5 separate regions of the Homo sapiens genome follow, and regions 2, 3, 4 and 5 are each linked to region 1. Evidence: promoter capture Hi-C in 16 types of primary human blood cells and fetal thymus (Javierre and others, 2016). All regions are on one chromosome and are shown on one strand. Each heading gives the region's core, a stretch centred on a gene start or on the middle of the fragment in contact. The rest is flanking DNA. Distances are from core to core; before and after follow the strand shown. Region 1 holds the start of ATAD2B (ATPase family AAA domain containing 2B). Region 2 overlaps ITSN2 (intersectin 2). Region 3 overlaps ITSN2 (intersectin 2). Region 4 overlaps ITSN2 (intersectin 2). Region 5 overlaps ITSN2 (intersectin 2).

The links. The method cuts DNA at HindIII sites, captures the fragments that hold promoters and counts their contacts. A CHiCAGO score of 5 or more calls a contact.
Region 2: a fragment that was not itself captured here is called in contact with the fragment with the promoter of ATAD2B in region 1 in 1 of 17 cell types (erythroblasts); the score reaches 5.2 in erythroblasts.
Region 3: a contact is called between a fragment that was not itself captured here and the fragment with the promoter of ATAD2B in region 1, in 1 of 17 cell types (M2 macrophages). The highest score is 5.5, in M2 macrophages.
Region 4: a fragment that was not itself captured here is called in contact with the fragment with the promoter of ATAD2B in region 1 in 1 of 17 cell types (naive B cells); the score reaches 5.3 in naive B cells.
Region 5: a fragment that was not itself captured here is called in contact with the fragment with the promoter of ATAD2B in region 1 in 1 of 17 cell types (M2 macrophages); the score reaches 6.3 in M2 macrophages.

Annotation. Positions count from the first base shown.
Region 1 is chr2:23,925,687-23,929,173 of GRCh38, reverse strand. It overlaps ATAD2B (ATPase family AAA domain containing 2B), which reads left to right and starts at 2,051. Exons shown (of 28, transcript NM_017552.4): 1 at 2,051-2,619. The coding sequence starts at 2,404. It also overlaps a transcript of UBXN2A not described here. RefSeq lists enhancers at 1,525-1,614, 1,201-2,117, 2,875-2,924, 2,118-3,036, 3,135-3,384 and silencers at 1,785-2,114, 2,315-2,394. The HindIII fragment of the contact is 2,488 bases long and covers 1,556-3,487 here.
Region 2 is chr2:24,339,380-24,342,719 of GRCh38, reverse strand. All of the region lies in intron 1 of ITSN2 (intersectin 2), which reads left to right. Among named protein-coding and RNA genes, the nearest start is that of ITSN2, 19 kb to the left of the region's middle. The HindIII fragment of the contact is 2,815 bases long and covers 256-3,070 here.
Region 3 is chr2:24,285,660-24,289,089 of GRCh38, reverse strand. ITSN2 (intersectin 2) reads left to right here. Exons shown (of 40, transcript NM_006277.3): 16 at 2,739-2,878. Among named protein-coding and RNA genes, the nearest start is that of ITSN2, 73 kb to the left of the region's middle. The HindIII fragment of the contact is 4,203 bases long and covers 1-3,430 here.
Region 4 is chr2:24,232,005-24,234,987 of GRCh38, reverse strand. All of the region lies in intron 29 of ITSN2 (intersectin 2), which reads left to right. Among named protein-coding and RNA genes, the nearest start is that of FAM228A, 58 kb to the right of the region's middle. The HindIII fragment of the contact is 1,177 bases long and covers 1,095-2,271 here.
Region 5 is chr2:24,268,237-24,271,484 of GRCh38, reverse strand. ITSN2 (intersectin 2) reads left to right here. Exons shown (of 40, transcript NM_006277.3): 20 at 717-814. Among named protein-coding and RNA genes, the nearest start is that of ITSN2, 91 kb to the left of the region's middle. The HindIII fragment of the contact is 1,727 bases long and covers 1,017-2,743 here.

The DNA of each region.
Region 1 (3,487 bases), core at 802-3,301:
TCCAGCCTGGGTGACAGAGTGAGACCCTGTCTCTCTCTCTTTCTTTTTGGCAGGGAGAGGATCTCACTATGTTGCCCAGGCTGGTTTCCAACTCCTGGTCTCAAGCCATCCTCCCGCCTCGGCCTCCAAGTGCTGAGAATACAGGTGTGAGCTACAGTGCCTGGCCCAAACCAGCCTCTTTCCACAGGAATTGATACTTGTTTATGCTGCTCAGTGATGTGATAGCTACTTGACCCAGGAAAATCCAGGTATGGTTCCATTATGAGGAATCCCACCCATTAAGACATCAACTCTAAGTGGCAGGTGAAGTGTCCAGGAGAGGATGTGGTATGCAAATTGTGTCAGAAGGATTTATCTATTCTGGAATCCATACTGGTTCCCAAACAAAAAAAATTGTCATTTCCAGTGTTGTACAGTTTTTTGGAATGATTGGGAGCTTAGATGGCCAGAATGCTCTAAGTTTGATGCCATTTGGTCATTTTCAGGACTTTTCCTGAGTTTTCAATTTTTCTTAGTTTAATAAACAGTTTAATAAACTCCTGCCCAATAAACAGTAGGCTATGTCTAATGTACTGTGAATTTTATTTTTTTTTTTTTGAGATGGAGTCTCATTCTGTCACCCAGGCTGGAGTGCAGTGGCACGATCTTGGCTTACTGCAATCTCTGCCTCCCGGGTTCAAGCGATTCTCCTGCCTCAGCCTCTCAAGTAGCTGGGATTACAGGCATGCACCACGACACCTGGCTAATTTTTTGTATTTTTAGTAGAGAGGGGGTTTCACCATGTTGGCCAGGTTGGTCTCGAACTCCTGACCTCAAGTGATCCGCCCGCCTTGGCCTCCCAAAGTGCTGGGATTACAGGCGTAAGCCCGGCCTGTACTGTGAATTTTTGAAATGAACCTAATTCCTACTTTACAGCAGAGCTTTTCTTTCTTTCTTTTTCTTTCTTTCTTTCCTTTCTTTCTTCCTTTCTCTCTCTCTTTCTTCTTTTTTTTTTTTCTGAGACAGGGTCTGGCTCTGTCATCCAGGCTGGAGTGCAGTGGCGTGATTTCGGCTCACTGCAACCTCCATCTTCTGGGTTCAAGTGGTTCTCATGCCTCAGCTTCCCGAGCAGCTGGGATTACAGGTGCCCACCACAACACCCATCGATTTTTTGTATTTTTAGTGGAGACAGGGTTTCACCATGTTGGTAAGGCTGATCTAGAACTCTTGACCTCAGGTGATCCACCCACCCCGGCCTCCCAAAGTACTGGGATTACAGGCTTGAGCCACCGCACCCGGCCTACAGCAGAGCTTTTCATATGAATTGTGTGGCTTAATTTTTTTTTCTTTGGAAGTTAAATTGCAAATGCTTTATCTGTGGGTTCAGCTTTTTGTATTCTTAATTCTTCAGCGGGCCGGGGGCAGGGGGCGGCGATAGAGGCGGCTCTTACAGGGTACTCATTCTTTGGCTCCGCCTTAGATCTGGCTAAGGGGATAGAAAACGACCCTGCCTCGCTTTGTTTAAAAACGCAGAGTTCTAGCATGGTGTTTCCCCCCCCCCTTCTCTTCTTAAGCTTACCAAGTTCCAGATACCGCCCAGATGAATTTTTTTTTTATCACAGCTGTCATTCTCATTTCTACAGGCATGAAAAGTGCGACTCAAGTTCAGTGTCTTGCCTCGGGTAGCTTGGGGATTCCCAGTCAGCTCCTCGCGCCTTCGTCGCCGCTCCCCTTCCACCCCGCGCCTTCGCCGGCCGTCCCCTGCTCCATCCAGGCCACGGGGGTGACGGTGGGGTCTGGGGCATTCAGGCCTGGCTGGGCATGAGGGCTTCAGGCCCAATTCCACGCCCGAACTCGTCCTGATTAGTCTGGCTTTTCTGGTCGCCCCAGCCCTGCGGTCGGGGAGAGCTGGAAACCACCGAGCTGACAGCCTAGAGCGTCGCTCCCCGGCCGCCGAGCGCTGACGCCGCGCCGGGGGCGGGGCAGCTGGAGGCGGCAGGGAGAGGAGCGAGCAGCCGGGAAGGGCTGGCCGGCTTCGCAGCGCCCCGCCGTGGCTGCGGCCGGAAGCGGTCTCGTTGGCCCTGCGGCGCTGGAGCCTTGACGCACGGAGCTCGAGAGCGAGAACGGGAGAGAAAGGGGTAGAAATGGCGGCTCCGCTCGGCTCCCGCTGAGGAGGGCGAAGCCGGCGGAGTGTCTGTGCTGCCGGTCTGCAGCACCGCCCCCGCTTCCCGCACGCCGCCTGCTCACGCCGACTTCCCTTCCTCTGCCCGGCTCTCTCTTGTGCTCGTCTGCGCTCCGCACGCTCCGGGCCGGCTCGTCTCTCATTGCCCGGCTCGGCTCCGCTGGCCCTGACTGACCGGCCGGCGGGCCGGCCTTGCTCGGCTCTCCCGGGCGCGGCGTGGACTCCGTCCCCCTGGCTGGACCATGGTGAACACCCGGAAGAGCTCTCTCCGCCTTCTCGGGTCCAAGTCTCCTGGTCCCGGGCCTGGGCCTGGGGCCGGAGCAGAGCCTGGGGCGACCGGAGGCAGCAGCCATTTCATCTCCTCTCGGACCCGCTCCTCCAAGACCCGCGCCGCCAGCTGCCCCGCCGCCAAAGCCGGGGGAAGCGGTGGCGCCGGCGTCACTCTGGATGAGGCCAGGGTAAGAGCGCGGCGTCCCGAGTCCGGAGGCTCGGAAGTGCCGGCCCTGCTGCCGGGGCTTTGTCTGGCCGGGTTGGGGGTAGGAAGCCTACAGTGGAGACCGCTCGGGCGGCTGGAGACAGGGTCTGCGGGCGCGGTGGAGGGTGGCACCCAGAGAAGGGCCGCGACGCTGGCCCCTTTGCTTTTCAAGCTGGCCCGGCTCTTTTGTGTGAAGAACAGCCCTTGAGTCCAGGGGAGAGGGCTTTGGGGGTCCCTTTCGGCGTCATTCGAACGATCTGCTGTCCGTGTCCTTGTCCTGCCCCAGAGGGGAATTCTAGCGGGGAAGCAAGAGCGAAGGGCCAGAGCCCCTGGGTGGAAGGGTTGGAGAAGTGAAAGTTTTCTGCGGTGTCAAACCCTTCTTGAAAGTGTGTCAGTTCCTGCCGCTGTCTAACTCCAGCTTACTCTCAGTTTGGGGGTGGTTCAAGTTGGTGAGGAAGTGAACAGAGAGCTCCAGTTGGCAGCCAGGCAGGGATGCTGAAAAAAGTTTGTAGCTGCTCTGACACCAACTTTAAAAACAAAATCAACGCTATCGCCTCTCCAGGCAGGAGAGATCAAACATGATATTATAGCTGGGGAACCAGCCAGCTAGCTCACCAAGGTGCTAGTAGGAACCAGAGCTTTCAGGTCACAGAAGGAGCACGTCGAAAGAAACAAGTGGAATGTTTCGGATAGTCAGCACCATCATGCCAAAACTGTGTGGTTTCTTGGGTGTCTACATTTTTGTTATGGGACTATATTACAAAAGGTGAATGAACACCATAGTCATGCAGTTGCAAAAATGACATTTAAAGACGCTGGTGATTGAATTAAAAAACTGATTGAAAGATCTT
Region 2 (3,340 bases), core at 414-2,913, 410 kb before region 1:
AATGTTTTCCTTCACATTCATTCATTTTAACAAATGTTTTGATGTGTAGGGCCTAAGCTGATTTGAATGCAAGCTGAAATGCACATATCTGGTTGAGTCATGGGAACTGATTTGCATGTGTCTTTCTCTTTTATGGCTTGAAGAGGAGAGAAATTTGTGCTTAGACACTTGAGGGCCTACGAGATCAAGGAGTCTGTCCTTAGCTCTGCCCTTTGGACTGTTGTCTGAGCCTAAAGAAGAGAGACAAAGAAAGCTTGCATTGGGAGGCTGAGGTGGGAGGATCACTTGAGCTTAGGAGTTTGAGACCAGCCTGGGCAACATAGGGAGACTGCACCTCTATAAGAAATTTTAAAAATTAGCCGGGCTTGGCAGCGTGCTCTTGTGGTCCCAGCCGCTTGAAAAGCTGAGGTGGGAGAATCACGTGAGCCTGGGAGGTCGAGGCTGCAGTGCACCGTGATTATGCCACTGCACTCCAGCCTTGGCAACATTGACTGTCTCAAAAAGATTATATATCTCTAAAAGAAAAAAAAATGGTAGAAGAAAATCTGTACCTTCTCAATCGCTCTTTCTTCTGCTTCTAAACTTATGTATGCCTTTGTTCATTCTTACTCCCCTTCCTGAACTTCATTCTTAGAGACAGAAATATCTGTCCCAGGTTCTAACTTCGTGTTCTAGAGCTGTCTACTACTTCTTTTTCTGGCCCTAACTTCCATTAGGTAACTTCTCTCCCATCTCCTTTTTGTAAATTAAATCTTTATTTCTTTTTTTTGTCTAAAAATAGTTTTGTTCTGTCACCTAAAAACTAAAGCCTTATAATAACTCTGCCTCCCTTTCTTAAATCTTACCTTTTTTCCTATGTATTTTTTGAGAGGAAATCTTGCTCTGTCGCCCAGGCTGGAGGGCAGTGGTGCGATCTTGGCTCCCTGCAACCTCCACCTCCCAGGTTCAAGCTATTCTCCCGCCTCACAGGCACTCACCACCATGCCCGGCGCATTTTTGTATTTTTAATAGAGACAGGGTTTCACCATGTTGACCGTGAGACCGGTCTCCTGACTTCATGTCATCTGCCTGCCTCAGCCTCCCAAAGTGCTTGGATTATAGGTGTGAGGCACCACACCCAGGCTCTTCCCCTTATTTTAAACATTTATTGCCTAATCTACTTCAATTTGGCTTCTATAGCCATCACTGTGCTAGAACTACACTCACTCCAGATTGCCAACACTAATAGCTGAGTCTTAACTTCTGTGACAATACCATTTTCTCCTTGAAACTCTTAACTCTGTATCCCGATTTCTCGTGTTTCTGAACCTCTGTTTCTGACTATTCTTGTCTCTTTTTTCTTATACATGATTTCCCTGGATAATGTCATTCACCCACATGATTACAACTACTCCCAATCCCTAATGACTACGAAATCTGGGTTTCTAGATAGAGTGTTCACTATATCTTGGACACTTCCATCTAGATGTCTTTGTAGGTGGATCAGATTAGGTGTGCTCAAAATTGAACATTTTGTTGTTCATCCCTCAAATCTAATATCTAGATTCCTACTTTCTTAGAGCTTCTATCTTGGTTAATATTACTGCTCTACAGTCACCCAAGATAGAAACCCATCTGTGATGCTCCTCTTTCATCTTCCACATTTAGCTGACCAGAAAATCCTGTCTATTCTACCTTTGAAATACCTCTTCTCCATTGCTCAAGTTCAAGTTCTCACCACCTGGACTATGCCAGTCACTTCATAATTGGTGTGTTTGTCTCAAGACTCAAAATCCAGTTTGTTCCTATACTGCTTGTCAGAGTTGTCTTCCTCTCCTCTTAAAAGACCAGTCTTCTTATATATTTTTTTATATGTACTTTCCCTGGATAATGTAATTCACTGACATTACAAGTATTCCCAATCTCTGATAACTACCAAATGTGGGTCTCTAACTAGAACATATACTATATGTGTGTGTGTGTGTGTGTTTTTTTTCCTTTTTTGAGAACACAGGATCTATAATGACACAACTTATAGACCAAATGCTGAACAAAAGAGACACAACGGGCTACATAATTCCATTCATATGAAGTACCTTAGCAGACAGAACGAATCTATGGTATTAGAAGTTGGGATCATGTTTCCCTGGTGGGACAGAGGCTGGAAGGGAGCATGAGGGGACTTTGGGGACTGCGACGATTTTGACTTTCTTCATCTTGATGCTGGGTAAACAAGTACATTCAACTTTTTTTTTTTTTTGAGATGGAGTTTCGTTCTGTCACCCAGGCTGGAGTGCAGTGACGTGATCTCAGTTCGCTGTAACCTCCACCCCCCGGGTTCAAGCGATTCTCCTGCCTCAGCCTCCCAAGTAGCTGGGACTACAAGCGTGTGCCACCATGCCTGGCTAATTTTTGTATTTTTAGTAGAGATGGGGTTATACCATCTTGGCCAGGGTGGTCTCAAACTCCTGACCTCAGGTAATCTGCCGCCTCGGCCTCCCAAAGTGTTGGGATTTCAGGCGTGAGCCACCGCGCCCTGCCAAGTACATTCAACTTTATACTGTGTTTTAAATACTGGCTCTCCATGACTTGCACAGCAATGTCCAAAATCAATAGCATGACTTACTGTTTGTCTTAAATTGTGTGATCTTGGTTACTTAATCTCTTTGGCTTCTACTTGTTTTTTTTTACATTATTTTATTTTAGAGACACTGTCTCACTTTGTTACCCAAGCTGGAGTGCAGTGACATAATCATAGCTCATTGTAACCTTGAACTCCCGGGCTCAAATGATCCTTTCACCTCCTGAGTAGCTACTTCCTGAGTAGCTAGAACTACAGGTGTGTGCCACCATGCCCAACTAAGTTTTTAATTTTTTGTAGAGAAAGAGTCTCCCTGTGTTGCCCAGGCTAGTCTTGAGCTCCTAGGCTCAAGTGATCCTCCCACTGTGGCCTCCCAAAGTGCTGGGATTGCAGGCATGAGCCGTGAACCACACCTGACCTATTTAGTTGTTTCTGAAATGAAGAGGATGGAATTCAGTGTGTTGTCATTTATCTTTAAGAAAAAATCAGGTGAAATCTTACAGAGAAGCTTCAATATATAAAACACAAAAACAGAGCTAGTCTCACTGAAGTTGGTATCCCTTCCAACCTTCCCTCTTTCCTCCCTACCCCACCTCTGTTGTACCTCCTTGAAACTTTTAGAACTCCAAGGAGCGTAATTTGAAGACTACTGGGTTTCTAAAGGTTTAACTCTTTTTTTTTTTTTTTTTGAGACGGCGTCTCACTCTGTCGCTCAGGCTGGAGTGCAGTGGCGCAATCTCAGGTCACTGCAACCTTCGCCTTCCAAGTTCAAGTGACCCT
Region 3 (3,430 bases), core at 252-2,751, 360 kb before region 1:
AAGCAATCTTGAGAAAGAAAAACAAAGTTGGAAGCATCACACTGCCTGTTTGCAAATATTATGAAGCTATAGTAATCAGAACAGTGTGGTACTGGCATAAAAACAGACATAGGGACAACATGAACCTGCAAGATGTTACATTAAGTGAAGTAAGCCAAGCGCAGAAAGACAAATACGGTATGATTTCATTTATTTGTGGAGTGTATATATTTATCCATAAAAGTAGAGAATAAAATGGTGGCTACCAGGGCTGGTGAGAGAAAAGGGGATCACTGAGAGTTTGCTCAAAGGAAATCAACATTTCAGTTAGATAGGAGGAATAAGTTCAAGAAATCTATTGTACAACCTGGTGACTATAGTTAATAATAGTGCATTGTATTCTTTAAAGTTGCTAAGAGAATAGATTTTAAGTGTTTTCACCACAAAAATGGTAAGTATGTGAGGTAAGTATGTGAGGTTAATTAGCTGAATTTAGCCATTTTACAATGTATACATATTTCAAAACAACATGCGTACTATAAATACAAGTTTTTATTTGTTGATTACAAAAGACATAGATTTACAGAATAGAGAGCCTAGCTAATTAACATACACATTATGTTAATTAGCTAAATTATGCATATGTTAATTAGCTCCTTAGCCAATTTACAATGTATACATATTTTAAAACAACATGCATACAATATATATACAATTTTTTGTCAATTACAAGACATACAGACTTATGAAATAGAATAGAGAGCCCAAAAATAAACCCAAGTGTATATGGTCAACTAATTTTTGACAAGGGTATCAAGAAGACACAATGGGAAAAGGTAGCCTCTTCGATAAATGGTATTGGGAAAACTGGATATCCACCTGCAAAAGAATGAAATTGGAGCCTTATACCATACTCAAAAATCAGCTCAAAATGGATTAAACATAAGACATGAAACCGTAAAACTCCTAGAAGAAAACATTGACAAAAGCTCTTTGACATTGGCCTTGGCAGTGATTTTTTGGATATTACACCAAAAGCTCAGGAAACAAAAATAAACAAGTGGGACTTCATCAAACTAAAAAGTTTCTGCACAGTAAAGGAAACAATCAAGATGAAAAGGCAGTCTGTGGAATGGGAGAAAATACTTGTGAGCCATGTATCTGATAAGTGGTTTATATCCAAAATACAAGGAATATATATAACTCAATACCAAAAAACAACCCAATTTCAAAATGGGCAAAGGACCTGAGTGGACATTTCTCCAAAGAAGACCTAAAAATGGTAAAGAGATATTTAAAAAGGGACTCAACATTATTAATCATCAGGGAAATGCAAATCTAAACCACATTGAAATATAATATCACCTCACACCTGGTAGGATGGCTGTTATCAAAAAGATCAGAGATAACGAGTGGTAGTGAGCATGTGGGAACAAGGGAACCCATGTACACTGTTGGAGGAATGTAAATTGGTATAGTTGTTAAGGAAAACAGTATGAAGGTTTCTAAAAAAAATAAGATAGAACTCTTGTATGATCCAGCAATCTCACTTCTGAATATATATTCAAAGGAAACAAAATTACTGTCTCAAAGAGATATTTGCGCTCCCTTATGCTAAATGCAGTAAGTCAGTTACAGAAAGACAAATACTGCATGACCTCAGTTTCATATAAAATCTAAAAAAGTTGAACTCCTGTACAGAAACTGAGAGTAGAAGAGTGGTTACCAGGGGTTAGAGGGAGGGGAAAATGGGTAGATGTTGATCAGTGGGTTCAGACCAACATCTACCCATACCAGTCAGAAAGGTAGTTATATAAATTATGCAGTAGCCATAATGTAAACTACTATGGAGCAATTTAAAAGAATGAACTAGATCTGTTTGTCCTGATTGATAAGATATCTTACTAAATTGAAAACAAGTTGCATAGCAATGTAGACAATATGATTCTGTTAAAACCCATGGAAATAAAAGTTGAGTATGTACACATCTAAATGTAAATGCCTAAAAGGGGGATGAACTTGCAGTTGAAATGGAGGTGTTTTAATTTTTTACTCTGTATGTTTCATTTTATTTAAATTTTGTACTTCTGTACTTCAAAAATATGATAAAGTTAAAAACAGACATTTAAACAGATAATATTGCTATTTTAATTTATTGTAATGTATTCTGCATTATATATTTCCATCTGGTTTCTTCATCCCTGCATGAATATGTAAAAAAAGATAATATAAAATGAAACCTTCTGTTCTTACCTCCTAAAATAATGTTACTAAATAATCCAGTTAGTAATACTTACTGAATCTTTGCTGTGAATATTTCCCTGTTCTTGGGAGCACTAAGAATAAATGGAAAGCTACTTTAACTATAGTTTCTATTAATTGAGTATTAACTGTGGACCAGAGTGTACAATGGCTTTATATCCATCACCTCATTTAATGTAGCATGATGCTCATTGTATAGATGAAAAGCCTGAGGATTCGATTGGTGAAGCATCTTTCCTAAAGTAGAATTTCACTTCAGGTCCTAGTCCTTTTGAATGCAGAACCAAGGCTTACAACCATTTCCTCTGATGCTCTTTCCAGCATATAATCTGGGAAGTGGAAATAACAACTGAATGTTTTCTCTTGTACTGGTCTGCATTGTGTATACATCCTTCGTATTGGTCTAGTTACATCAATCTGACCAAACAGTAAATGACATGCTGGTAATGACATACGAACTTCTGCAAAATGTAAACTGTCTGATGTTTGTTTTTCAGATTCAGGGGTCAGTTTACTTCATAAAAAATCATTAGAAAAGGAAGAATTATGCCAAAGACTTAAAGAACAGTTAGATGCTCTTGAAAAAGAAACTGCATCTAAGCTGTCAGAAATGGATTCTTTTAACAATCAACTAAAGGTATTTATTTTTGATACTATTTATTTTTAGGTAACTGCCTTCTTACCTTCATTATTTTGATTTAATAGAATAAATAGCTAAAGCTATTATATGTATTACATTTTCATAATTTATTTTATAATTTCAACTATACAAGAATTTCAAGATTGTTTTTAATGTTCTAGTTATATGACATAGTGTCATATAACTAAACATATACTTTATCACAGTTTCCAATTTTTGATGACTATGTGCTGTTTGTCTTGGCATCTATACATTTCCAGAACAATTGCCTTTGTCAGTATTACAGAACTGATCTCAGCCAGCGTTATCCTAGGCAATTTTCAAAAATGAGAAATATGGAAAATTTGAAATAGTTTAGGTGTTAGTGGCTCTTTTAACACAGTTTTTATTTTGTTTCCTTGTGAAGTGTAATTTAATTAACCTTTGTTAAATAATGCAATAATCAGTGAAATCTAGAACAGAATCTGGCACTATAAACTTTGCACAAAAAGCAAGTTAATGATTCATTGTTTGCCGCAGTGGCAGAGCAGATGTCCAAAACATAGACTG
Region 4 (2,983 bases), core at 434-2,933, 310 kb before region 1:
TGTGTGATTGCTGCTGGATCATATGGTTTAAGAGTATGTTTAGTTTGTAAATGGCAAACTGTCTTCCAAAGTGGCTGTACCATTTTGCATTCCCTCCAGCAATGAATGAAAGTTCCTGTTGTTCCACATCCTTGCCAGCATTTGGTGGTGTCAGTGTTACAGATTCTGGCCATTCTAACAGGTGTGTAGTGGTATCTCATTTTTGTTTTAATTTGCATTTTCCCAACAACGTATGATGCAAAGCATCTTTTTATATGCTTATTTGCCATCTGCATATCTTTTTCCATGAGGCATCTGTTAAGGTCTTTGGCCCATTTTTTTATTTGTTTTCTTATTGTTGAACTGTTAAAAGAGTCCTTTCCATATTTTGAAAAATAGTTCTTTATCAGATACGTCTTTTGCAAATTTTTTTTCAGTCTGTGCCTTGTCTTCTCATTCTCTTGACCACATCTTTTGCAGAATGAAAGTGTTTACATTTAATGAAGTCCAGCTTATCAACTCTTTCTTTCATGGATTGTGTCTTTGGTATCATATCTAAAGAGTCATCACTAAACCCAAGGTTATCTAGATTTTCGCTTACACTATTTTCTGGGAGCTTTATAGTTTTGTGTTTCAGATTTAGGTTTGTGATGCATTTTGAGTTGATTTTTGCGAACAGTAGAGACCTGTGTCTATATTTCATTTTAAAGACAATTTCTTTTTTTTTTTTCGCATTTGGATGGCCAGTTGTTCCAGCATCATTTGTTGAAAAGAGTATCTTTGCCCCATTGTATTGCCTTTGCTCCTTTGTCAAAGGTCAGTTGACTCTATTTATATGGGTCTATTTCTGGGCTCTATTCTGTTTCATTGATCTATTTGTGTATTCTTTGGCCAGTATCACACTGGCTTGATTACTGCAGCTTTCTAGTAAGTCTTGAGGTCAGGTAGTGTCAGTTCTTCAGTTTTATTCTTCTCCTTTAATTTTTTTGTTGGCTATTCTGGGTCTTTTGCCTCTCCGTATAAACTTTTAGAATCAGTTTTAGAATCACTTTTTAAACTTTGCTTTAAAGAACAACAAATTATGAAGGACATTCTTAAGAGAGATGTTTTAAGCTTGTCAAAAGGCAAAAATCACTTACTCTTTCAAAGAGAACGATAAATGAGTGTAGTGGGAAGTATAGTGGGAGGATTGCTTTGATTCCTGTCTCAGCTAGCTCACCCCTCCGAGCCTTAGCCTGGTCTGTATAAGTGAGAATAATAATACCCACATTGCACATGAGGCTTAAGGGGTTTGTAAAGCACAAGTTTAATGTCTGACACATAATAGATACTAGAAATAACAGCTAACATTTAGTAAATATTTGCTGTGTACCAAGTCATGAACTAATCTTTGGGTTGTCTGAGTAAGTAGTAGAGTTGGAACTCAAGTCCAGATCTGACTTCAGAACTCATTCTCTTAGCCACCCCCACATGCTGCTTTCCATTAACTGGGAGCTGCTCTTAACTCCCAACCACAAAAGCAGAACAGTCATCAGTTAATTGCAAGATGGAGGGTAAAGAAAATTAACTGCTTTAAATGAATCCAAGCTGGTCAAGTTACATTCCAAGGTACCGAAGAACCTGCCACTGGGATCCCTGTGTCACCGGTGGTCATCCATTAGCCACCTGAAGTCAGAGTCAGCCAGTGCTATAGAATTTGTGTGTCCTAAACTCAGCAATTTGGGGCAAAGTCTCCAATTATGTATGTAGTCATAAACAAGTGGAAAACATGAGTTATATGAACATACCATTGGGGGAGATTAATGGTGTAATAAGCTGTTCAGTAATACTAAGAAAAAATATATATGTGCATATGAAACCCGTATTGCCCAAGGACAGAACTGTAGTAATCAGTGCACTGATACAAAGTGCTACAGTGCATGGAACAGTCTCTTTGGAACTGGCTATTAGATACAAGGTCCTAATTGTGTGTGTGACAGAGTAGAAGGGTGTGTAAGGGAATAATTATATCACTTAGACATAAAAAAGAGTTAGAGTAAGGGCCTTGTTTGCTTTTTCATTGCTTTGGGCTAATTGGCATTCAGAATATTTATCCTAAACCTTTTTTGCCTTTAGAATTCAGTTCACCAAGCATAGGACCTGGTAGGTTTATACATGGAATCTCCAGTAATTGCAGTGTAAGCATCATCTTAAATGGCCTGCCATTGGAAAGTATAAGACTTGAATCAAGTTACCTAGATTTAGATATGTAGTAGCTCTAATTTATCTGGTAAGTCTCTTCACCACTAAGCTTCAGATTATCTATTTACTTATAGAGCAGGGGTCAGAGCTGTTATCAGTTATTCGGAGGATTGATCAGGGTTTGAAAATCATCATACACATATTGGTATAGTTATTTTTATTGTTAGAATTGAAAGTTCTAACATGATGAAACTACTATTTCATATCTCTTTATAATAGTCTATATCCTGCATCTCACATTAACTCCCTCAATTGAGTCATGGTACAAGTCTGGCAGGTTAGAAGGTAATGCAGATTTTAGCCTGAACTAACTGCTCTCTGGGGCCAGGTCTGCGCTTTTGTCTATCATTAGGAGGTCATTGCTGTCTTAGGCTTATGACCTTTTACAGTAGATTCAAAAGTAAAAATAAAACCAATAAAATTTGTCTTTATCTGGTTGCACTTGTCAATATAGTTGCTTTTGGAAATTCTAGAATATGACTATTTTCTGATAGGCAAATAGTTTGCTTTCTGATGGTCTGCAACATTAGAATATGATTTCAACTTCTTTCCTTTTTGTGCTTACAGGAGCAACATAGCTCCTAATGGAGTAGAACTTGACAGGCCTCAAAAAGACATGAATTTAGAAATTTGTCCAGTAATTATTTAAATTTCCAAAAGTAAAAACAAATATCTTTGTGGTGGAAGCATGCTACCCGGTACTCAATAAATATTTGCCAAGTGGATGAAAAGCTATTCTTTTACAACATAAAATATCTTGTAA
Region 5 (3,248 bases), core at 631-3,130, 340 kb before region 1:
TAAATATTTTATTCAACCACTATAACTAAGCTATTTATTTTAATGAAACAACAGTAAAATTTTGATACACCTCAGTCCATTTCCACAATACTTTTAGTAGTATTGTATCTCTTTTAGATACATGAACCCTTTGAATCATTATTAATGATACAGTTTGTTGAAATTTTATAAGTTAAAACATTCTAAAGATGAACAAAGTAAACAATTTTATTCTTATCAAATTCAGTATATTTGTGTACTCTTCCACTGTTTTCCTTTTAGAACCATTCTGATAGATGTATAGATTTTTCTTCAGCCATCCCTGTTAACTTGCTATTCTTATCTTTTGAGACCCCCCTTTTTGTCCTTTACTTCCCTGTTATATTCAGACCTCCACAGATCAAACCAAGCCTCTCTTTGCTTGGTCTCCTTCCACTTTGTACAGCTCAGCCTGGCCCCCACTCCTGCACTTTCCTTTCTACCCATGTGTGTGCTTCATCCCGCAAGTCATCTCTTTGTTTTGCTGCCTCCTACCTTACTTAAGATGAGCATCCTTGTTTGCTTTTTTATTAGATGACTAGTCAAGATACTGAAATCCTAGCAAGTCTGTATCAAGTGGATTTTCATTGTAGTATTTGGTGCTTGATTTTTTCTTTTAGGTTTTAGAGCTCTTTATTGAGTCATAGCAAAGATGTATACATGTAAGTTGCAAATAATGACAATTGTCTTCTCTTTAGGTGAGACAGCTAGTGTTTTGGTGAATTATAGAGCATTATACCCCTTTGAAGCAAGGAACCATGATGAGATGAGTTTTAATTCTGGAGATATAATTCAGGTAGGAAATGAATTTTTTTTTTAATCATGAATAACCTAAATACATTGTAATATATTAGTTTCTGTAGTAATGTTGACCATTAATTTCATATATTTACCTTTGTAAAATGTTTCTTAAACATTACCTCATTTGGACTTTACAACATACTTCAGAGCTGCATAGGACAGTTATTATTACTAACTAAGTTCTAGCCAAGGAAGCTTAAACTCACACAAGTTGTAACTGTCAGCATTGCAGTGCCAGAATGGGATGCAGTTATGTGTTTTTTTATTTCCAAATCCAGCGTTGTTTCTGCTATGCCATACAGCAACTGTTAAAAGAATTGAAGGAGTTAGATTCCACAGCCCTAACTGGATACAGGCAATTTGTTCCTTGGAACGAAAGTCTTTATTGTGTTATCACAATCCATATAAAATACATGAATAAGAGAAGATCCCAGGAGTAGTGTTTGATAGAGCCAGTAGGACATAATGGAAAGAGTACAGGCTTTAGAAGCACACAAACTTGGATTTTAGTCTCTGCTTCTGTTTTCTTCTTGTTAAACTAATGTTAACCAGAGTATCTAGCCAGAGTATCTAGCCAGTGCCTCTTTCCCCCGCTCCCCCTGCACTGTCACCAGTTAGTGTGATTTATCAGTTAGGTGGCAAATGTTTAATGATACTAGGGAAAAAAATTTACCAAAACGCTAGCACCCAAGATAAACCCTAAACACACATTCCTGCTCTTGCCATTGCCGCTATTAGTAGTACCGGAGCTGTGCCCGAGCAGGGGGAGAGGTTTGTTCTACAACCAGCCCAAGTCCACTGTCTGCTCTTCCTACCATTCCTCCTCTCCTTGTTGGTGATGGTGTCTGGATGAAGAGATACAACCAATCTCTGGGCGTGTTTGGTCAAGAGTTTACTTATATTTTTGGTTATATTTTTTATTTATTTCAACAAATATTTTTTGAGGGCTGACTATGTTAGACTAGGGATTTAGTGAATAAGACATTATCTCTGCTCTTAACACGCTTGTAGGCTAATGAAAAAGCGTGACAACCTAAAGCAGTAGAGGAAGGAAGGTAAGGAAAAGGTTGTAGACTGCTACCAGCTTTAGCACAGACCTCTCCCATGGTCAGAGAGCCATTCTGGTGGCAGTGACAACAGAAACATAAAGTTAGCTGTGTGTCTTGGGTGCTTGTGTACTCTGCTGAATCATTAACATGAAGTATTAGTCATGAGTTACTACTGTCAGTCATGAGTTGCCTGATTTGAACAAATTGGTTAATGATGGTGTCATTTCCTAAGAGGGAAAATCAGAGGGGGAATATATAAGTAGAATTATGAGTTCAGTTTTGTATGAGTTTCAGATGTCCAGGCAGTAGTAGTTGGATCTCCAGAGTACCTAGAGAGATGTCAGGCAGCGGTCTGGGCTGAGGATGTAAATCTGGATGTCGCCAGTGTGATGTGATGGTGTTGGAAGACATGAGAGTAATGGAGCTCATCCAGGGGAGTAGTAACGTGAGAGAGAAGAGGATTGAGGATGCAGTTCCTGAGAAACATGGACACTGAAGGAATTATTAGAGGAAGTGGAGCCTTAAAAGGAGTGACTAGTAGTAGGAAAAAAAAAAAAACAGGAGAGTTTAATGTTAGGGAACTTTGAGAAGAGTGATCTGCAAGTGAAATAAAACAAGGACTAAAAAAATTATTAGATTAGCAATAGCACAGGTGTTGTTAACTTGAGGACAGCAGTATCAGTTAAGTGGACTAGTAGAGCGAGAAGCCAGATTTCAGTGAGTTGGAATAAATTGGAAGAGAGGAAGAGGAGACAGTGAATATATAAAACTCTTTGAATGAGCTTGGCTTTGAAAGGGAGAAGGAGAGAAGGTAGTAAATAATGAGAAATGTGGGTTGAGGGAAGTTTTTTTTTTTTTTAAAGTTGGCTGAAGCTTGAGCAAGTTTAAATAATAGTAGAAAGGATCTGCAGAGAGGAAACAGGTTAATGATAATGGAAAGAGTATAAATAACTGATAAAGATTGTTTTTTCTTATTAAAGTATAATTTATATATAGCAAAGTGTACAACCATAAGTATACAGCTCAAAGAATGTGTACACATCTGTGTATCTGTGAAGCCCCCCTCAGATCAGTGTGTAGAACGTACAGCATCAGGAAGGCACTTCATGTTCCTTGTCAAACCTCCCTGTTCTGACTAATAGATGGAGATGAGGAAGATTCTTGAAAAGGCTAGAAGGCTGGAATCTGGAGCCCTGGAAGAGAGTGGTAGAAGGATTGAATACCTTATCCTTTGTCATTAGAGGGCAGGAAGAAAGGGTGGGAGGGATTAAAGTAAATTTTGCTGAAGTAGAAGATGAAGTCAGGTCCCAGGACTTCCAAATTCCCGGTAAGATAGGAGGCAAGGTCTGATCAACTTAATGGATGAGGGTGTTACCGGAG